2 separate regions of the Homo sapiens genome follow, and region 2 is linked to region 1. The links are contacts of gene promoters, found by promoter capture Hi-C in blood cells and fetal thymus (Javierre and others, 2016). All regions are on one chromosome and are shown on one strand. Each heading gives the region's core, a stretch centred on a gene start or on the middle of the fragment in contact. The rest is flanking DNA. Distances are from core to core; before and after follow the strand shown.

Region 1 (5,156 bases), core at 1,051-3,550:
TAGAGGCAGGAGAATCGCTTAAACCCAGGAGGCGGAGGTTGCAGTGAGCCGAGATTGTGCTACTACACTCTAGCCTGGGCAACAGAATGAGACTCCATCTCAAAAATAAAAATAAAAAAATTAAAAAATAGAAAGTAGGAGGGAATAGGAAATAATATCATCTGAGAGGAGCCAAACTAAAGTGAGTCTTGGAAGTCTGGTAGCACAGGTTTGTTCAGTGCACAAGATAGACTTGGTCAGCTGGAAAATATAGACATTCTGCAATATCTGGAATATTGAAAAAAATTAGTATCTCTGAAAGGAGAGATGAGGAAAAACATGAACAAGTTGTACAAAATGTAATTAATTTGTGAGCAAGCATTGAATGTTTACTGAGCCCTTGCTTTGTGCAACGAATTAGGCAAGGAAAATGAGGAAGACATGGTCCTTTATTGGCCAAATAAAGTATGACACATCTATACAATGGGACGGGAGGCAGCCATTAAACAGAACATGGCAGCTCTTAAGGGTACTATATGGAGCAGTCTCCATGTTTTGTTGTTGACAGTTTTATTTATTTTAGAGACAGGGCCTCATTATGTTGCCCAGGCTGGTCTCTAACTCCTGGGCTTAAGAAATTCTCCTGCCAGGCCAGGCACGGTGGTGGCTCATGCCTGTAATCCCAGCACTTTGGGAGGCTGAGGTGGGCAGATTATGAGGTCAGGAGTTTAAGACCAGCCTGGCCAATATGGTGAAACCTCATCTCTACTAAAAAAAAAAAATACAAAAATTAGCCGGGCCTGGCAGCGCACACCTGTAGTCCCAGCTACTCGGGAGGCTGAGGCAGAAGAATCGCTTGAACCCAGGAGGCGGAGGTTGCAGTTAGCTGTGATCATGCCATTGCACTCCAGCCTGGGTGACAGAGCAAGACTCCATCTCAAAAAATAAAAAAAAGAAATCCTCCTGCCTCAGCCTTCCAAAGATTGCTGAGATTACAGGCATGAGCCACTGCACCCGGCATTTTTTATTTTGTTTTGTTTTTTAGAGACAGGGTCCCACTCTGTCACTCAGGTTGGAGTGCAGGGCACAATCATAGCTCACTGCAGCCTCCAACTCCTGGGCTCAAGCCATCCTCCCACCTCAGCCTCCCCAGTAGCTGGGATAACAGACATGTGCCAGTAAGCTCTACTAATTTTTTGTATATGTAGTAGAAATGGGGTTTTGCTACATTGCCCAGGCTGGTCTTGAACTCCTGGCCTCAAGTGATCCTCCCGTCTTGGTCTTCCAAAGTGCTGAGATTATACATGTGAGCCGCCGTGCCCAGCCAAGTTTCTGAGTTTTGTTTATTTTAGAAAGGAGTCTTCCTGTGCTGCCCAGGCTGGTCTCAAATACCTGGGCTCAAGTGATCCTCCAACCTCAGCCTCCCAAATAGTTGGGACTACAGGTGAGCACCACCATGCCTAGCCAATCTCCATGTTTGATTGTTAAGTGGAAAAAGCAAGGTGCACAACAAACATACTATGGTGCTGTTGCTAAAGGAGAAGCACAAGGCCTACACATGTTTCTATTTACAGAGGTAAGCTCTGGAAGGATATACAAAAATCTGGTCACAGAGGTTGTCTCTTGGGAGGAAAAAAAGGGGACTGAGGAGAAATTAAAAAAAGACTTTTCATTGTACATTCTTTTGACCCTATTGTATTTTATATCATTTGCACATTTGCTTATTTAAAAAGTTTTCAGAAATTTAAAAGCAGCTCTTTTTCCAAAGTGCTCCTCACTTCATGTCATGGGTCCTGTATCCTAAGTTCCCCTATTTCAATCACAGTGCAAATTTACCCTCCACAGGCATGCCTTTCCTGCATCTAGACTCACTAGAAATAGCTGATGCATCTCTCCTCCCTTGCCTGCCCTCCACAGGAAAAGAAGCAATGAAAAAAAAGAAAATGAGATCCTCTGGTCTCTGTCACCTTTTTATCAACTTGTACTACCTGCCATTATCTGACACCCACATCTTTTCTTGAATCTGCCTCCTCCTATGGGACAGCGACATTTTCTTAAGTTGCAGATGATGGAGAAAATTTTTTAAAAGAAAAAAAGGGGGCAGGGGGAGGGAAGCCCAGAGTTTGGCCAAATGCACGTTTTTCAAGTTCCTGCTTGAGCTTAGATTCCCTTTCCGCTTTAAGGACATGCCCTCTGGAAAGAAGGGTGTTTTGTTTCCAGCCCACACAGACCCAAACTTTTTTCATCACGTGCCTGGTCCGAGCCAGTACGCAGCTCTGTAATGAGATCACCATGGCCAGCCTCCCACCCGAGCAAAAACAAGGTTAGCCTGCAGCAGAGCCGCAGCAGCAACAGCCACCAAAGCGGGGGCTGAAAGGGAAGAGAACTTAGATTTGACCTGTGCAAGGACCTCAGCAGCTTGGACACAGCCCACTGCAGAGGTAAGTGGGAACTACGGGGGAGGGGTGGTGTTTGCAAAGGTCAGGACATGTCCAGGTTCACTTAAAGTAAGGGCAAAACAACACTCTTCCCACCTCTGCCACCACCCTGTCCTCTCTACTTATGGCAGGGTTAGATTTGCCTCTAAACAGGGTTAGATGGCAGGGTTAGAATTTGTCCTAGGACATTGCTGTAGTGCAGTCGCCTCCTTGTCTCTTACTAATGTCTGTATCCTCTGCCTGTGTTTGTACCATCTACCTCCTCAGTAGTCTAATTTTTCTAGCAATTGACAGGTGATTGTAATGGACAAGTAATTGTTTGACTTTAAAACCATTTGTAAAGGAGCAACTCCTAATTCAGAACTCAAATGAGAGGCAGAACAAACTGGAAGAGACTGTTGGGAAGCAACTGCTGCCTAATTGCTTCTCATCTCTACTCTGCCATCACCAGGAAGGTATGGGGCAAAATACAACAGTTTTAAAGTCTCTGGATAGATGTGTGGGCTATGAGCTAGACAAGTAGGTTGAAACTGTTTTGATGCAACATACTTGGATTTACCAACAGTGGCTCCAGTTGTGAAATCGTTAGTGGCTTGATAGTACCTATGGAAACACTCCACGAAGGTTATTGAGTAAAGGGCATACAGTAAAGTGTGTAGGTGGAGATGAACAATAGAACAGTGGCTTTCAGGACCTTCTGGGGCTTAAGGCAAGCAAGACAAGATGCTGATTTGTGGGTTGCTTCAGTTTCATGTGCAATTCCAATTAAATTTCTTTGAGTGGGATATACAGATTCAATTCAATTTGCTAAAACACAGATGCACTGAGCATCAGCTTCTAACTTTAGTTACGAAAGTAATTAGCACAAGGGAATGGTGCTAAAATGTTCCATAGCAAATGTTGAACACTTTTTGAGGGCAAAAAGCAATGCTTTTGATTCGTGTATCTCTTATTTATTCGGCAAATCTTTCTTGAGTATCTTCTACATGCCAGGCTTGGGCTTGATTCTGTGGATCTCGTGGTAAACAAGACAGGCAGATTCTCGGCCTCATGGACATGCAATCAAGCAGAACAGTAAGCTCAAAGGGTGCAAGTACCATGCAGCAAAAGGAGTGAAGAGAGTATTACTAAAACTGGCCCATGGGAATCATTTTTAACCTTTCCTTTCATGCATTTCATCTTCTGTTTTTGTTTTTTTTGTTTTTTGAGATGGAATCTCGTTCTGTCACCCAGGCTGGAGTACAGTGGCGCGATTTCAGCTCACTGCAACCTCCACCTCCTGGGTTCAAGAGATTCTCCTGCCTCAGCCCCCCAAGTAGCTGGGATTACAGGTGCCCGCCACCACACCCAGCTAATTTTCGTATTTTTAGTAGAGATGGGGTTTCACCATGTTGGCCAGGCTGGTCTCCAACTCCTGACCTCAGGTGATCTACCCACCTCGGCCTCCCAAAGTTATGAGATTACAGGCATAAGCCAACGTGCCCAGCCGCATTTCATCTTTGTTTTTTTTTGTTTTTTTGAGACAGACTCTTGCTCTGGCGCCCAGGCTGGAGTGCAGTGGCATGATCTTGGCTCACTGCAACCTCCGCCTCCCAGGTTCAAGCGATTCTCCTGTCTCAGCCTCCAGAGCAGCTGGGATTACAGGCGTGCACCACCACACCCGGCTAATTTTTATATTTTTAGTAGAGACGGAGTTTCGCCATGTTGGCCAGGCTGGTCTCAAACTCCTGACCTCAGGTGATCTGCCCACCTCGGCCTCCCAAAGTGCTGGGATTACAGATGCGAGCCACCGCTCCTGGCCGCATTTCATCTTCTTAAATGAATATCGGCCACTCTATCTTCTATATAAGCCTCAGATTAGTACAGATGTTGAGTCATAGCAGCTCCTCAAAACCCTCTTCACCAGAGGCTTTAAACTGTGTAATTACATTACAGGTCAGTCTCCTCAGCCCTGGAGGTCGACTGCTCAGCTTTTTCCTAGCATACAGTCTGAGAGCAGAGGCTGAAGTAAGGGGAGTTCTAATCTTTGGGTCAGTTGCCCTCTCCCTGTGTCATTTCTTATGAAATAGAAGTTATGCTATTCCCAAAATACATACAGCACTAGGCAAAGTGTTAAGAAGCCTAGATTTTGCCAGAAACCATGTGGAGTTTGGAGCAAGTCATTTCTACTAACTAGGGCTTCCTCCTTAGCTTATAAAATGGAAGGGGTAGACCAGATGAACATGAGGTCTTTTTTCTCCCCCCTCTAAGAGTAAATTGTCTCAACAATTTTACAAGTTGTTTACAAAACAATACACATTCACATAAAGGTGATGTATTTATATCTATAAAATAGGAACATTCAGTAGGCCGGGCATGGTGGCTCACGCCTGTAATCCCAGCACATTGGGAGGCCGAGGCGGGCGGATCACAAGGTCAGAAGATCAAGACCATCCTGGCTAACATGGTGAAACCCTGTCTCTACTAAAAATACAAAAAATTAGCCAGGCGTGGTGGCAGGCACCTGTGGTCCCAGCTACTCGGGAGGCTGAGGCAGGAGAATGGCATGAACCCGGGAGATGGAGCTTGCAGTGAGCCAAGATCGCGCCACTGCACTCCAGCCTGGGTGACAGAGCAAGACTCTGTCTCAAAAAAAAAAGGAACATTCATCAATCATGCAGAATATCCAGGAAACAAGAATATGAAAGAAAATCTGGGCCAGGCGCAGTGGCTCATGCCTGTAATTCCAGCACTTTGGGA
Region 2 (5,156 bases), core at 1,916-4,415, 120 kb after region 1:
TCTGTCCCCCAGTCTGGAGTGCGGTGGCCCGATCTCGGCTCACTGCAACATCCGCCTCTCAGGTTCAAGCGATTCTCCTGCCTCAGCCTCCAGAGTAGCTGGGATTACAGGCATGTGCTGCCAAACCTGGCTAATTTTTGTGTTTTTAGTAGAGACAAGGTTTCGCCATGTTGGCCAGGCTGGTCTCGAACTCCTGACCTCAGGCGATCCACCCACCTCTCAGCCTCCCAAAGTTACAGGCATGAGCCACCGCACCTGGCTTTGCTGTTTCTTCTGAGGGTCCAGATTAAGATGTTGGCTGGCATGTAGGGCTCAGGTTGTGAGAAAAGGAATGTACAGCTAGCTCTACAATAAGGTGATATTCAGTGTGGTGAGATGCACCTCTGGGATCCAAGACTGCTTAGGGAATGGCAGCAAACAGTATCCCACACACGCATGGTTTACCTACTGTGTCTGTGTCCATCAGATCGTGGAGCTGAGGGCGTGTGACTTAGATGTGTCTGTGCTGTGCTTCTGACCCATTCTGTTTGTCTTAGGGAGGCCCACAGAACCTAAGGGGCCTCCCATTGTCCCTTAGGTTCCTGGAGGAGGTTAACTGAGGGCCCGGAGATGAAGACAAGATCTGAGAGTTCTCCAGACCCAGCAGTGTGAGTGAAGCAAGGGGAATGTTCAGGGACTATGAAGGGGAGGGCTGAGGAGGGGTGGTTAGAGCAGAGCTGGAAAGCTGGAACAATGAGGATAGCTCATTCACAAGGAGGGGCAGGGGCGGGGAACCGGGAATATCAGAGGAGATCAAAGAGAGAGAGAGACTTGGCAGAAGCTTGGGGAAGAGAGTTTTGAGGAGAAAACAAGTACCAAGGGTTGACCTGCTGCAGCATTACAGAACTAATCACTGTCTTTCAAATTAGGAGTTCGAGACCAGTCGGACCAACAAGGTGAAATCCCGTCTCTACTAAAAATACAAAAAAATTAGCCGGCGTGGTGGCATGTGCCTGTAGTCCCAGCTACTCGGGAGACTGAGACAGGAGAATTGCTTGAACCCGGGAGGCGGAGGTTGCAGTGAGCTGAGATCTCACCGCTGCACTCCAGCCTGGGTGACGAAGCAAGACTCCATCTCAAAAAAAAAAAAAAAAAAAAAAAGAGAAAAATTCCATGCTTCTAGATTACCAAAAAGGAAGTTTAGTTCCTTTGAGTACTTTAAACATTCCCCCTAGAATTGCATTAAAACAACACATTGGCCAGGCACGGTGGCTCACACCTGTAATCCCAGCACTTTGGGAGGCCAAGGCAAGCAGATCACTTGAGGTCAGGAGTTTGAGACCATCCTGGCCAACATGGTGAAACCCCGTCTCTACTAAAAATACAAAAATTAGCACGGTGTGGTGGTGCACGCCTGTAATCCCAGCTACTTGGGAAGCTGAGGGAGGAAAATCACTTGAACCTGGGAGGCAGAGGTTGCAGTGAGCTGAGATTGTGCCATTGCACTCCAGCCTGGGTGATAGAGGGAGACTCTGTCTTGAAAAACCAAAAAAACAACACATTTATTCACCTCACACACATTAGGATGGCTACTATCAAAACAAACCAGAAAATAACAAGAGTTAGCAAGGATGTGTAGAAACTGGAAGCTTTGTGTACTGTTGGTGGAAATGTAAAATGGTGCAGCCACCATGGAAAACCATATGGAAGTTCCTCAGAAAATTAAAAATAGGGCCAGGGATGGTGGCTCACATCTGTAATCCCAGCACTTTGGGAGGCTGAGGCGGGCTGATCACATGAGGACAGGAGTTTGAAACCAGCCTGGCCAACATGGTAAAACCCTGTCTCTACTAAAAATACAAAAATTAGCCAGACGTGATGGCACATACCTGTAATCCCAGCTACTCAGCAGTCTAAGGGAGAAAAATCACTTGAACCCAGGAGGCAGAGGTTGCAGTGAGGCAAGATCATGCTACTGCACTCCAGCTTGGGCAACAGAGTGAGACTCTGTCTAAAATAAATAAATAAATAAATAAATAAATAAATAAATAAATAAATAAAAATAGGCCAGGCAGGGTGTGGCTCAAGCTTGTAATCTAAGCACTTTGGGAGGCCAAAGTAGGAGGATCCCTTGAGGCCAGGAGTTGGAGACCAGCCTCAGCAACATAGTGAGACCCCATTTCTACAAAAAATTTAAAAACTTGCTGGGCACAGTGGCTCATGCCTGTAATCCCAGCACTTTGGGAGGCTGAGGGAGGTGGATTACCTGATATCAGGCACTCGAGACCAGCCTGGCCAACATAGTGAAACCCCGTGTCCACTAAAACTACAAAAATTAGCCAGGTGTGGTGGCACACGCCTGTAATCCCAGCTACTCGGGAGGCTGAAGCAGGAGAATCACTTGAACTGGGAGGTAGAGGTTACAGTGAGCCGAGATCACGCCATTGCACTCCAGCTTGGGCAACAAAAGCAAGACTCCATCTCAAAAAAAAAAAAAGAAAATTAAAAAACTTAGCTGGGTATGGTGGCGAACACCTGTAGTCCCAGCTACTTGAGAGGCTGAGGCAGAAGGATCACTTAAGCCCAAGAATTAAAGGCTGCAGTGAGCTAAGATGGTGCCACTGCACTCTTGCCTGGGTAGACAGAGTGATGACTCCCATTTCTAGAAATAATAATAAAGTCAAAAAATGTAAAACTTTTTAAAATAATTAAAAATGGAACTACCTTGGCCAGGTGCAGTGCCTCATGCCTGTAATCCCAGCACTTTAGGAGGCCAAGGCGGGCAGATCACCTGAGGTCAGGAGTTTGAGACCAGCCTGGCCAACATGGCGAAACCTGTCTCTACTAAAAATACAAAAAAAATTAGCTGGGCATGGTGGCACGTGCCTGTAATCCCAGCTACTCAGGAGGCTGAGGCAGGAGAATTGCTTGAACCTTGGAGGTGGAGGTTTCAATGAGCCGAGATCACGCCACTACAATCCAGCCTGGACAACAAGAGCGAAACTCCATCTCAGAAAAAATAAATAAATAAATAAATAAATAAATAAATAAAAATAAAAATAAAAATGGAACTACCATATGATCCAGCAATCCCACTTCTGTGTGTATATCCAAAAGATTTGAAAGCAGGGTCTCTTTTTTTTTTGAGACAGAGTCTCGCTCTGTCACCCAGGCTTGGAGGAGAGTGGTGCGATCTCAGCTCACTGCAACCTCCGCCTCCCAGGTTCAAGCAGTTCTACTGCCTTAGTCTCCCGAGTAGCTGGGATTACAGGCACCCATCACGCCTGGCTAATGTTTGTATTTTTAGTAGAGACGGGGTTTCACCATGTTGGCCAGGCTGGTCTTGAACTCCTGACCTCAGGTGACCTGCCCGCCTTGGCCTCCCAAAGTGCTGGGATAACAGGCATGAGCCACCACGTTTGACCTGAAAGCAGGGTCCTAAAGAGCCACTTGTACACCTATGTTCATAGCAGTACTATTCACAATAGCTAAGAGATGGAAACAACCCAAATGTCTATTGATGGATACACGGACAAGCAAAATGTGGTATATATTATATATACCATGGAATATTATTCAGCTTTAAAAAGGAAGGAAATCATGTTATATGTTGCAACATGAATGAAACTTGAAGACATTATGCTAAATGAAATAAGCCAGTCACAAAACAACAAATACTGTATGATGCCACTTATATGAGATATCTAAAGTCAGCAAATTCATAGAAACAGAAAGTGGAATGCTGGTTACCAGGGCCTGGAGGGAGCGGGAAAAGGGAAGTTGTTTTTTAATGGGTGCAGAGTTTCAGTTTAGCAAGATAAAAAAGTTCTGGAAATCTGTTTCCAACAACGTGAATATACTTAACGCTACTGAATGTACACTTAAAGATGGTTAACATGGTAAATTTTATGTATCTCTTACCAGAAAAGGAATTTTTTTAATTAAAAAAACCCAAAACCAAAACAATACATTTGCCTGTATACGCCCCCTTTACTCACTGAAAAACAGCTGGTTTCAAAACAGCCTGTTCAGTGTGATACTATTTTTGTCAAATGTCCTTTTCTATTCTAATATATGTAAATTATTATCATTAGGACATAAACCAAAAGATTACCAGTGGTTATTTCTGAGTGCTGATTTTGTCCCTTTTGCTAATCTGTACTCTGTAACTTTTTTTAGGGAACATTTTGTTACTTATTAAAACAATTAAAATTCATCCTATTTCAGCCTCTGTCTTGATGTCCACAAAACTGACATAAGTTGACTTCATGTTTTTGAAGCTTTATTTTGTATATAATTTGAAATCAATGCTAATAATTAATCTCAATATAATAATAGTAATACTTCCTATGTAGTGCAAGATACTTGTGCTCGTCATGAATTATCTCACATATTAACCTTTTGAGGTAGGTACTATTTTTTTTTTTTTTGAGAGGGAGTTTCACTTTTGTTGCCCAGGCTGGAGTACAATAGCGTGATCTCGGCTCACTGCAACCTCTGCCTCCCAGGTTCAAGTGATTCTCCTGCCTCAGCCTCCCAAGAAGCTGGGATTACAGGCATGTGCCACCATGCCTGGCTAATTTTTTATATTTTTAGTAGAGACAGGGTTTCACCATGTTAGCCAGGATGGTCTCGATCTCCCGAACTCAGGTGATCCACCCGCCTCCGCCTCCCAAAGTGCTGAGTTAGGTACTATTATTAAAACTCTTTCTACAGACAAAAAAATAGAGGTTATGGCCAGGCACGGTGGCTCACATCTGTAATCCCACCACTTTAAGAGGCCGAGGTGGGCGAATCATCTGAGGTCAAGAGTTCCTCACCAGCCTGGCCAACGTGGCAAAATCTCGTCTCTACTAAAAATACAAAAATTAGCCAGGCATTGTGGCAGGCACCTGTAATCCCAGCTACGCAGGAGGCTAAGGCAGGAGAATAGCTTGAACCTGGAAGGCAGAGGTTGCAGTAAGCCAAGATGGCACCACTGCACTCCAGCCTGGGCAACAGAGTGAGACTCCGTCTCCAAAAAAAAAAAAGAAAGAAAGAAAAGATAAAAGAAAAAACAGAGGTTATATAGCTTGTGCAAACTCATTTGGAAATGTCAAAGCTGGCCAGGCATAGTGGCTCATAGCTGTAATCCCAGCATTTTGGTAGGCTGAGGCAGGAAGATCACTTAAAGCCAG

The links. The method cuts DNA at HindIII sites, captures the fragments that hold promoters and counts their contacts. A CHiCAGO score of 5 or more calls a contact.
Region 2: a contact is called between a fragment that was not itself captured here and the fragment with the promoter of FAXDC2 in region 1, in 6 of 17 cell types (neutrophils, total CD4 T cells, fetal thymus and 3 more). The highest score is 6.5, in neutrophils.

Annotation. Positions count from the first base shown.
Region 1 is chr5:154,847,747-154,852,902 of GRCh38, reverse strand. It overlaps FAXDC2 (fatty acid hydroxylase domain containing 2), which reads left to right and starts at 2,300. Exons shown (of 9, transcript NM_032385.5): 1 at 2,300-2,420. The HindIII fragment of the contact is 21,500 bases long and covers 1-5,156 here.
Region 2 is chr5:154,733,421-154,738,576 of GRCh38, reverse strand. It overlaps a transcript of LARP1 not described here. Among named protein-coding and RNA genes, the nearest start is that of LARP1, 19 kb to the left of the region's middle. The HindIII fragment of the contact is 2,192 bases long and covers 2,070-4,261 here.